Regions from separate parts of the Homo sapiens genome. Here region 2 is linked to region 1. The links are contacts of gene promoters, found by promoter capture Hi-C in blood cells and fetal thymus (Javierre and others, 2016). All regions are on one chromosome and are shown on one strand. Each heading gives the region's core, a stretch centred on a gene start or on the middle of the fragment in contact. The rest is flanking DNA. Distances are from core to core; before and after follow the strand shown.

Region 1 (5,035 bases), core at 1,926-4,425:
GCCACAGCTGTGGCCTCTCAATAAATCGTTCCCTCCAGTGCACTCCACTCAAAGCCACTGGGGGCTGCCGAACCCTCTGTTGAAACCTCAGAGAACGCGTGAGGCAAGGGCACAGCAGGAAAAGGCTCTGAGCTGCCACTGCTGAGCCTGAGGGCAGGGCAGGCCAGGAGGGCATAAGGAGGCCACACCTCACCCTCTGTGTAGGCAGCCTAGTGGGGAGCCCCGACCTCTCGCCCATGCCCCAGAAATGCACCACAATCCCACCATCTTGGCCAGGCTGGTGGGGTCCTGGGGGCAGGTACACAGGGCTGGGGCTGAGCCTCTCCAGATGGAGCGGAAGTGGTTTGCCTGTGCGATCCTTTCAAGATCAGCAGTCATCACTCAACCAATGTTTATCAAGGTCCTACCATGTGGCAGCCTGGAGCCACCCCACAGTCCCCACCCTTGCAGGGACAGCTTTGTCATGCGGGTAGCATAGTACATGTTTGAAGGTGCCCATGAAGGTTGGGGAGGGGTAGTGGTATAAGGGAAGGCTTCCCTGGGGAGGGAGATCTGAGCTCCAGGTTAGAAGTTTGGTAGAGGTTAGCCTGCAAAGGGGTCTGGGAGAGGATTCTAGGTCGGGAGTACAGAAGAGCTTGGAGGAGTAAAACGTGACTTCCGGGCTTCCAGTGTGGGTTGTTGACCTGATGGTGTTGTTACTGAATACAATTAAGACTATCAGGAAGGGCAGGGGGAATGAGCTGAGGAGGGTGAAAAGTGATGTGTGTACCTTGGGCTCTGCTGAATGTGAGGTTCCCGTTGTAGAGCTACCAAGTACCATTGGGAAGGTTGTGCACTGCACAACTCTAGAAGGCACCAATTGTGTTTTACCTTGAAAGACACAAATCTGAATTTAAAACCTCACATGATGTTTAGGAAAAGCTGCCCATAAGCACTGGGTATGTGTCTAGTAGGTAGAGACAGGGCTGGGAGTCATTGATGCAAAGGTAGGGATTGAAATTCTGAGGGCAGGAGGGCTCTCTCAAGGAGAGTGTGCAGCGTGAGATCTCTGAGCGTCGACAGCTGCTGGGGAGCACCCCCCACCTCCGGGGCAGGCAGAGGAGGAGGAGCACTTGAGGACAGCAGAGATAAGCCGTGCCCATGCAGGCCCAGCGGAGCGCAGTGCCACGGAAGTCAAGGACTGGGATAAAAGAAGACGGGGGCTTGTGTGTCCCAAGCAACAGGGTCTGGGGTGACAAGGCCAGGAATGTCTCCTGGATTGGGCATGAGGAGGGCTTTGGGAACCCTGTGGAAACAGACTTGGGAGGAGGTGGAAGCCCGGCTGGAGGGAAAGACTGAGAAGAGAGGTTCGGCGGGAGTGAGGACAGGTGGGGCCAAGTCCTGGGCAGGCAGATGAGGCTGTGTGCAGGCTGTTGTCTCTGGCAGCACCCAGGGCTTCTGCATAGATGGCCGCTGGGGCCCCCCTCCCTGAAGGCCTGGATTCCAGCCACCCCGACTTGGCCCTCAGCCCACTCCTGGAGTTGGCCCTCTCCTATCAGCTGGTGTGTGTTCTGGGGATGAAAATTGTTCTGAACATCTCCTGCAGCAACAGATAGCGTTACGGGCTGGCGGCGGGTGTAATGGTGAAAGTGCAGTCCAGGCTGACAGGAGTTCAAATCCCAGCACCTTCACTTCCTGGCCTTGTGAACTTGGGGAAGTCACCTGACCTCTCGGGGCCTCTGTTTCCTCAGCTGCAAAATAGGGATAAAAATAAGCCCCCACTGAATGGCTCTGCAAACTAACGGTGTCATTTGTGAAGCGCCCAGCTCCGTGCCAGGCAGGGAACAAGGAGAGCTATGCGGCTCGATGGGAAACGATGCTGCCTAATCCACTGGTCAGCAAAGGCTAAGCACAGGCACGGTGTGTCATTTAGGCTCCCTGTCCCCACTCCTGCTAAGACATGCAGTTGGCAGGTGGCTCTGTTGGTGGCCTGGCTATGGTGCTGGGCTCAAGCGGCTGGAGTAAACAGGATGGGGTCTGTAGCACCTACAGTCTAGAAGGCTCTGCTACCCACATGTATTGGAAATTTCCTTCCTAGGACCACCTGAGCTAGGGCCTAAAACACAGACACCCCAGAGAGGTTGCACAGTAATTTACATGTACACCAAGGTGCACATGACTGATACCGGGTTCTTTCCTGGAGCCGGTCTTAATGGCCGGCTAGAGAATCAAGGTTGGAAGGAGGCAGAAAGGTGTAGAAAGGGAAGACTGCGGCCACCAAAATCCATTTTTTTCCCCAGTTCCTGGACAAGCCACCTCCTGTGCGCATGAGACGTTCTGTGGGTTCAGAACTGCTTCCCCTTTTTGGAATGTCAAAATACGCATTTCCTGCCAAATGCTTCGGGGAGCTGCGATGCTGAGATAACCCGGCTCCTCCAGGCTGCCTCATCTCAGCGATTATCCTGAAGGAGCACCCGCCCTTCAGGTGTCCCAGAAGCTGCTTGTCAGGCCAGGAAGACAGCAGCCCTGATGATCAGTTCTTCCTAAAGCCATCCGGCTCCTGGGGAGAGGCAGGTGGGACTCCAGAACTCACAGAGCTTTTGGGAGGAGAAAGAGGAGGCCGGAGAAGCAAAGGGCTTTACAGCAAGAGAGTGGTCAGTCGCAGCCACTGGGGAAAAGCCCAGAGGGAGGGCAGGGGCGGGAGGAGTGGGCAGAGGATGGAGGCCCAGCCCGGGAAGAAAGTGGGAAAGGGTGACCGGGTTTTTGGGGTGGGGTTGAACGTGATGCTTACGTTTCCAGAGGAATCTTGGCCTGTCCCCACGCAGGGGACAGGGAGGTGCCTAGAAGCAGCAGCCACAGGAGGGCCGAGGTCTTCTGCACAAAGGCCCAGGCCACGGGCATTGGCTGGAGGGGAATCCAGCGGCTGCTGGAGCTGGGGTTTGCGAGGAAGTTGGGAGTTGCAGGCATGGTGGGCCTGGGGTTGGGGAGGGGAAGGAGGGCAGAGCAGCCACAGACCATGAGCTCTGTCTGCCTTCCTCCCAGACCCCAGGACGCCCCAGGCCTTTGTCTTCCGTGCCTTGGCGAGCCTGGGGTCTCCAGCCTCTCAGTCCTGGGTGGGGAGGGCTTCTCTCTGCCCCACAGCTGCAGCTCACAGAAGAGTCGCCCCACCTAGCAAGCAGGCCTCGGAGACAGGGACTGGGGGAGAGGCTGTGGCAACATGAAACCCTTTAATCCGCTGGCCTCTCCTCTAATCCTCTCCTGACAGCAGGGAGGGGGTGGCAGGGGGTGGGGAGCTGCCTCCCAAGATTACCACAACTGCAGCTGGTTCCCTCAGGGCTATAGTGCACCCCTCTGCTTTAAAGAGGCAGCCCCGTTCCTGTGGAACCACCTTCTGGACCCAGGAAGGGCTTGCTGTGACTATGGCCAGAGGACAGCAGCTGAGTTTGCACAGTACTCTGATTGACCCACAAATCTCTTGTTGACCCTGAGGTGGGGGTGTGTCCTCATCCCTGCTTGGCAGAGGCTCTTGAGGCCCGGGGAGTCCCAGGGGCAGAGCTGGGACTCTGGCTGGTGTTTCCAGGCCTGGTGCCTTTGGGACAGGTCATAGGTCATAGGTGAAGTCAGTGGACCCACGCCTCCACATCTCAGCTGCTCGTGGGCGGGGCTGGGGACGCATTTGCTGTGCAACTGATGAAGCTTCAGGACCCCTGAATCCACAGACTCCCCCCTTTCCCGGAGAGGCCCTAGCAATGTGTTCCTGTGGCCAAATGTTTTTGTAAAATATGCAAAAGTTGAGATAGTTTAACCATAACCGGTTGAGACTGTCTGTCTCTTTCCATCCCAACTTCTCTTCCGTCTGAGGGACTCTTAGTTGGATGATGTTTGGGTGGCTGAGGGCACTTGGGGGATCCAGTTAAGAGGAAAGTGAGCTGGGGAAACACTTAATCTGGGCTTAGTGGGATATGCTGACATGGTTCACAGTGACTTCTTTGTACAGAGAAGTTACCTCCAGCTGAGTGTAGGCAGGGCTTCCAGGAACACTCATCCCACAGGACATCCCACCAGCAGATGCAGCAAGAGAGGCTGGGCCGTGATGTGAGCGCACGCTGTCACACCCACCCTGGCCATGTGTGGTGGGGAGGGCAAAGTAACAGTCAGGAGCTCATCTGCAGAAAATCTACAAAAAGCCACACAGGTAACATCGTTGGTGGAGGATTTGGTTCTCACCAAGGCCTGGCCAGGACAGAAGTTCTCTCCTGTTAGGAAAATAGTGGATATTGAAAGAATATAATTACACCGTACATTGCTTTGTGTTCTGATGAGAGTTACACAAATTAGAATTGATCAAAATTCTTGTGTTGTGAGCCCAAACCAGTAGTAGTACCACATGGGTTCTCCGGGGGTGAAGTCATAGATTTTATGCAGTCCCCGTATCAGATTATTTTCTTAGTGTAACTGGTGCACTGTGTCTTCACAAAATCTGGTGGTTCCAGCAAAATGGTAAGCAAAATTGCCACCAACGCAGAGAAATGCTTGCAGAAGCAAGTGTTCTGATGACAAAACTCCTACACAGATTCATCAATAAGTCAGTGCTGTAGTATCAGAGTAATCTGGTGGCACAGTTTTGTGGCTGAATACAATGTATTTTTTAAAGGCATCTAAATGATTCCTATGAATGCCTTAATTTCACATAAATTTTGTACATGTTTTGAGGATTACAAATCAAACACATTTAGAAAAAATACTACAGAGGCACACTGGGCAGTCAATACATAAAAAGAATGTAACTTCTCTAGGTTTTGTGAATTTGGTGGAATTCACCAGCTTCTTAAAATTTGTAATTTGGAATGATTTTTAAAACTGAATAAATATTCACCTTTTTTCAACTTTTTTATTGTGGCCCAATATTTATTGTGGCATAAAATGTGCCATCTTAATCATCTTTTTAAGTGTACGGTTTAGTGTAATTAAATACATTAATCATGTTGCTCCACCTTCGCCGCCATCTATCTCTATAATTCGTTCATCTTGTAAAACTGAAACTCTGAACCCATTA
Region 2 (5,162 bases), core at 1,859-4,358, 240 kb before region 1:
CTCCCCACGGAATAGTAGCTCTGCATACCTGCTGAGATCCTGCCATAAATGGTCAGGCCACCAGCAATTACACTGTTGCCACACCCTGACTTTTTTTTTTTTTTGAGATGGAGTCTTGCTCAAGGAACTTAGTACTTCATACACCACCACCCTATCTAACATGCTATTTTGCAGTGATACTTCATATCTTTACATATCCATCATCAATGTAACATACAGTTATACAGCGAATGCATGTTTAGATTTATTTAAAGCTTTATTAGTTTCTTTGCTCACCATTGCTTTCCATTTTTTGGAGGGATCACTCTTTTTTTTTTCTTTTGTGTGCATGTGTATGTGTATGAGAAACAGATCATACATGAAAAATAAATGAAAAACTATGCACATATCGCAGTATTGGTGGATGAATACTATGATGTCTGAGATACATCTCAGAATAATCTGGGAGGGGAGAAAGTGAGTGACGGTGGAGATAAAATAAAATTGGTTGTGTACTAATAATTATTTAATAATTATTAAAGTTGTGGCTGGGTGCAGTGGTTCACACCTGTAATCCCAGTACTCTGGGAGGCTGAGGCAGGTGGACTGTTTGAGCCCAGGAGCTGGAGACCAGCCTGGGCAACATGGCAAAACCCTGTCTCTACTAAAACTACAAAAATTAGCTGAACGTGGTGGTGTGGGCCTGTAATCCCAGCTACTTGGGAGGCTGAGGTGGGAGGATTGCTTCAGCCCTGGGGGCGGAGGTTGCAGTGGGCCAAGTCTGTGCACTGCACTCCAGCCTGGGCGACAGAGCAAGACCCAGTCTAAAAAGAAAAAAAAAGAAAAATTGAATTTGTGTACTGATACTTATTTAATAATTATTAAAGCTGTGGGCCGGGTGCGGTGGTTCACGCCTGTAATCCTAGCACTTTGGGAGGCCGAGACGGACGTATCACGAGGTCAGGAGATCGAGACCATCTTGGCTAACACGGTGAAACGCCGTTTCTACTAAAAATACAAAAAATTAGCCGGGCGTGTTGGCGGGCGCCTGTAGTCCCAGCTACTCGGGAGGCTGAGGCAGGAGAATGGCGTGAACCTGGAAGGTGGAGCTTGCAGTGAGCTGAGATCGCGCCACTGCACTCCAACCTGGGGGACACAGCGAGACTCCGTCTCAAAAAAAAAAAACAAAAAAAAGCTGTGTACTAATAACTATTAAAGCTGGAGTATAGATACAGGGAGCTAGCTCTATTTTTGTATGTGTTTGACATTTTTGTATGTGTTTGTGTTTGAAATTTTGTATGTGTTTGAAATTTTACATGTTAAAGGATATAGAAAAAAGTAAAAGGTCCTGGGGCTCAATGTTCACCCTGCAGCTGACGAGTTGTGTCACTTTTTTTTTTTTTTTTGAGATGGAGTCTTGCTCTGTCACCCAGGCTGGAGTGTAATGGCGTGATCTCAGCTCACTGCAACCTCCGCCTCCCGGGTTCAAGTGATTCTCCTGCCTCAGCCTCCGGAGTAGCTGGGATTACAGGTGTGCACCACCACGCCCAGCTGATTTTTGTATTTTTAGTAGAGAAAGGGTTTCACCATGTTGTCCAGGATAGTCTCCATCTCTTGACCTCAACTGATCTGCCCGCCTTGGCCTCCCAAAGTGCTGGGATTACAGGTGTGAGCCACCGCGCCAGGCCCGAGCTGTGTCACTTTTTATAAGTCACTTCCTTCCTCTGCACCTTGGTTTCTTTCTCTCTAAAATAATGCAGTTTGACTAGACAATCATTTAAGATCCCTTCCTGCTTTGACAGGGTGAGATATCATTAATCTTTTGTGTTGTTTCTGTTATTTTGTTTTTTACTAAGATAAAATTTACATCCCATATAATTTGCCTTTTTTTTTTCTTTTTTTTTTTGAGATGGGGTCTCACTCTGTCGCCCAGGCTGGAGTGCAGTGGCACAGTCTCAGCTCACAGCAACCTCTACCTCCCAGGTTCAAGCGATTCTCCTGCCTCAGCCTCCTGAGTAGCTGGGATTACAGGCGCCTGCCCCAACGCCTGGCTAATTTTTGTATTTTTAGTAGAGACGGGGTTTCACCATGTTGGCCAAGCTGGTCTTGAACTCCTGACCTCAAGTGATTTGCCTGCCTCGGCCTCCCAAAGTGCTAGGATTACAGGCGTGAGCCACTGTGCCCAGCTGTGAAGTGGTATCTTGTTGTGATTTTGACTTTCATTTCCCTAATGACTAATGATATTGGACATTTTTCATGCCCTCTTATAGATCTTCTTTGAAGAAAAGTCTATTCAAATCTTTTGCCCATTTTTAGATTGAGTTATTTATTTATTTATTTATTTATTTTGAGACAGAGTCTCAGTCTGTCTTCCAGGCTGGAGTGCAGTGGTACAATCTCAGCTCACTGCAACCTCTGCCTCCCAGGTTCAAGTGATTCTCCTGCCTCAGCCTCCCAAGTAGCTGAGACTGCAGGTGCCTGCCAGTATGCCTGGCTAATTTTTATATTTTTGTAGAGATGGGGTTTCACCATGTTGGCCAGGCTGGTCTTGAACTCCTGACCTGTGACCCGCCCTCCTCAGCCTCCCAAAGTAATGGGATTACAGGTGTGAGCCACCACACCCAGCCGAGTTATTTATCTTTTTATTGTTGAGGTATAGGAGCTCTTTATATATTCTAGATATAAAACCCTTATTAAATACATGATTTGTAAATATTTTCTCCCATTTTGGGTTGTTTTTTCGCTTTCTTGATACATAACAGCCTTTACTTTTGGTGAAACCTAATTTATCTAATTATCCTTGGTTGCTTGCATTTTAGATATTATACCTAAGAAATGATTGCCTATTCCAATATCACAAATATTTACCCCTATATTTTCTTCTAAGAATTTTTATAGTTTTTGCTCTTACATTTAGGTCTTTGATCATTTGAGTTTATTTTTGTATATAGTGTGAAGGTGTGAATTTAGGGGGTCTAAATTCACTATTTTGCATATGTATATCTGTTGTCCAAGCACCATTTGTTGAAAAGACTGACCTTTCCCCACTGAACGGTCTTGCCACTCTTGTCAGAGATTGACCATGGATGTATCAGCTTACATCTGGACTCTCCATTCTGTTGCATTGAAATATACATGTTTATTTTTATGTCACTACCACACTGTCTTCATTAGTGTAGCTTTAAAGTAAGTTTTGAAATTGGGAAGTGTGAGCCCTCTAACTTTTATCTTCTTTTTCAAGATTGTTTTGGTTATTCTGGGTCCTTGCTTTTCCATGTGAGTTTCAGGATCACTTTGTCTATTTCTGCAAAAAAAAAAAGTAGTTGGAATTCATGAATCTTTAATTCACACCAAACTCCTCACTACAATGTCCTCTATGAGAACTAGCACGTTGTCTAACTTGGTCATTGTTGTATCTCCAACACCTAGCACAGGCCTGACCTAGAGTAAGCTCTTAATATTTAATGAATGAATGGCAAGAAAAAAAAGCACAGTTTAGAGAATAGCAATAAAATGTACCCAAAGGAACATTACCATACCTCAGAAGCCACCTGCATGCCACTCCATGATGAACTTCTCCATCATTTCTGTTTTTTTGAGACAGAGTCTCACTCTGTCACCCAGGCTGGAGTGCAGGGGCGTGATCTCGGCTCACTGCAACCTCTGCTTCCCAGGTTCAAGCAATTCTCCCACCTCAGCCTCCTGAGTAGCTGGGACTACAGGCTCACACCAGCACACCCGGCTAATTTTTGTATTTTTAGTAGAATCGGGGTTTCGCCATTTGGCCAGGCTGGTCTTGAACTCCTTATCTCAGGTGATCCACCTGCCTCGGTCTCCCAAAGTGCTGGGATTACAGGCGTGAGCCACCGCGCCTGGATCCCTCCATCATTTCTTTGCTTTTAAAAAAATAACAAACTGTGGCCAAGCAGAGGCAGGTGGATCACCTGAGGTCAGGAGTTCGCCACCAACCTGACCAACATGCTAAAACCCCGCCTATACTAAAAATACAAAATTAGCCAGGCGTGGTGGCACATGCCTGTAATCCCAGCTACTCGGGAGGCTGAGGCAGGAGAATTGTTTGAACCCGGGGCGGGGGCGGAGGCTGCAGTGAGCCAAGATCACATCACCACACTCCAGCCTGAGTGACAAAGCAAGACTCCGTGTCAAAAAATAAATAAATAGGCCGGCATGGTGGCTCAGGCCTGTAATCCCAGCACTTTAGGAGGCCGAGGCGGACGGATCATGACGTCAGGAGATTGAGACCATCCTGGCTAACATGTGAAACCCTGTCTCTACTAAAAATACAAAAAATTAGCTGGGCATGGTGGTGGGCACCTGTAGTCCCAGCTACTTGGGAGGCTGAGGCAGGAGAATAGCGTGAACCCAGAAGGTGGAGGTTGCAGTGAGCCGACATCACACCACCACACTCCACCAGCCTGGGCGACACAGCAAGACTCTGTCTCAAAAAATAAAAATAAAAATAAAATAAAATAAATAAATCAATAGCACCTTATTTATTTATTTGGGTTATTTCCAGGCTTTTGCTATAATAAATCATGATGTTGTTACATATTTCCTTATGTCCCTCATACAGGAGGTTCTATGCCTAGCAGTGGAATTCTGGGGTCTTAGGATATGCACGTATTCAACTATACCTGGTAATCCAAACCTTGCTCCAAAGTGGGTATACAAATTTACATTTCCACCCAAAGTAGGTGAGAATTATTACCATTGTTCTTTCCTTCTGGGTTCAGTTTTCTTCTTCTGCAAGTATACACTTTAGCTGTTTTTTTTGTTTTTTTTTTTTCAGAGAGGAACCGAATGTTAAACTCTCCTGGTCTTTGTTTTATTGAAAATGTCTTTATTTTATTGAAAACATCTTTATTTTGTTTGCACTCTTGAGTGAGAACTTCTATGAATATAGAATTCTAGATTGATAATGTTTTTGTTTTTTTCTCAATACTTTGAAAATACTATTCCATTATCTTTGGGCCTTTATTGTTGGATTTAATTGTAGTTCTTTTGTCTTCTGTCTCTGGTAGCTTCTAAGATTTTTGTCTGTGGTGCCTGCAATTTCACCATGATACGTCTAGGTGTAAATTTCTTCTTGTTTATTGGTTTGGCACTTGTCATGATTTCTGAGTCTGAGGATTCATATCTTTCATCAATTCTCGGAATTTTTT

What was found. The method cuts DNA at HindIII sites, captures the fragments that hold promoters and counts their contacts. A CHiCAGO score of 5 or more calls a contact.
Region 2: a fragment that was not itself captured here is called in contact with the fragment with the promoter of CACNA2D4 in region 1 in 1 of 17 cell types (neutrophils); the score reaches 5.9 in neutrophils.

Annotation. Positions count from the first base shown.
Region 1 is chr12:1,915,477-1,920,511 of GRCh38, forward strand. CACNA2D4 (calcium voltage-gated channel auxiliary subunit alpha2delta 4) reads right to left here and starts at 3,176. Exons shown (of 38, transcript NM_172364.5): 1 at 2,771-3,176. The coding sequence starts at 2,997. RefSeq lists an enhancer at 1,249-1,825. The HindIII fragment of the contact is 3,790 bases long and covers 1-3,673 here.
Region 2 is chr12:1,671,126-1,676,287 of GRCh38, forward strand. No RefSeq gene overlaps it. Among named protein-coding and RNA genes, the nearest start is that of MIR3649, 13 kb to the left of the region's middle. The HindIII fragment of the contact is 5,712 bases long and covers 253-5,162 here.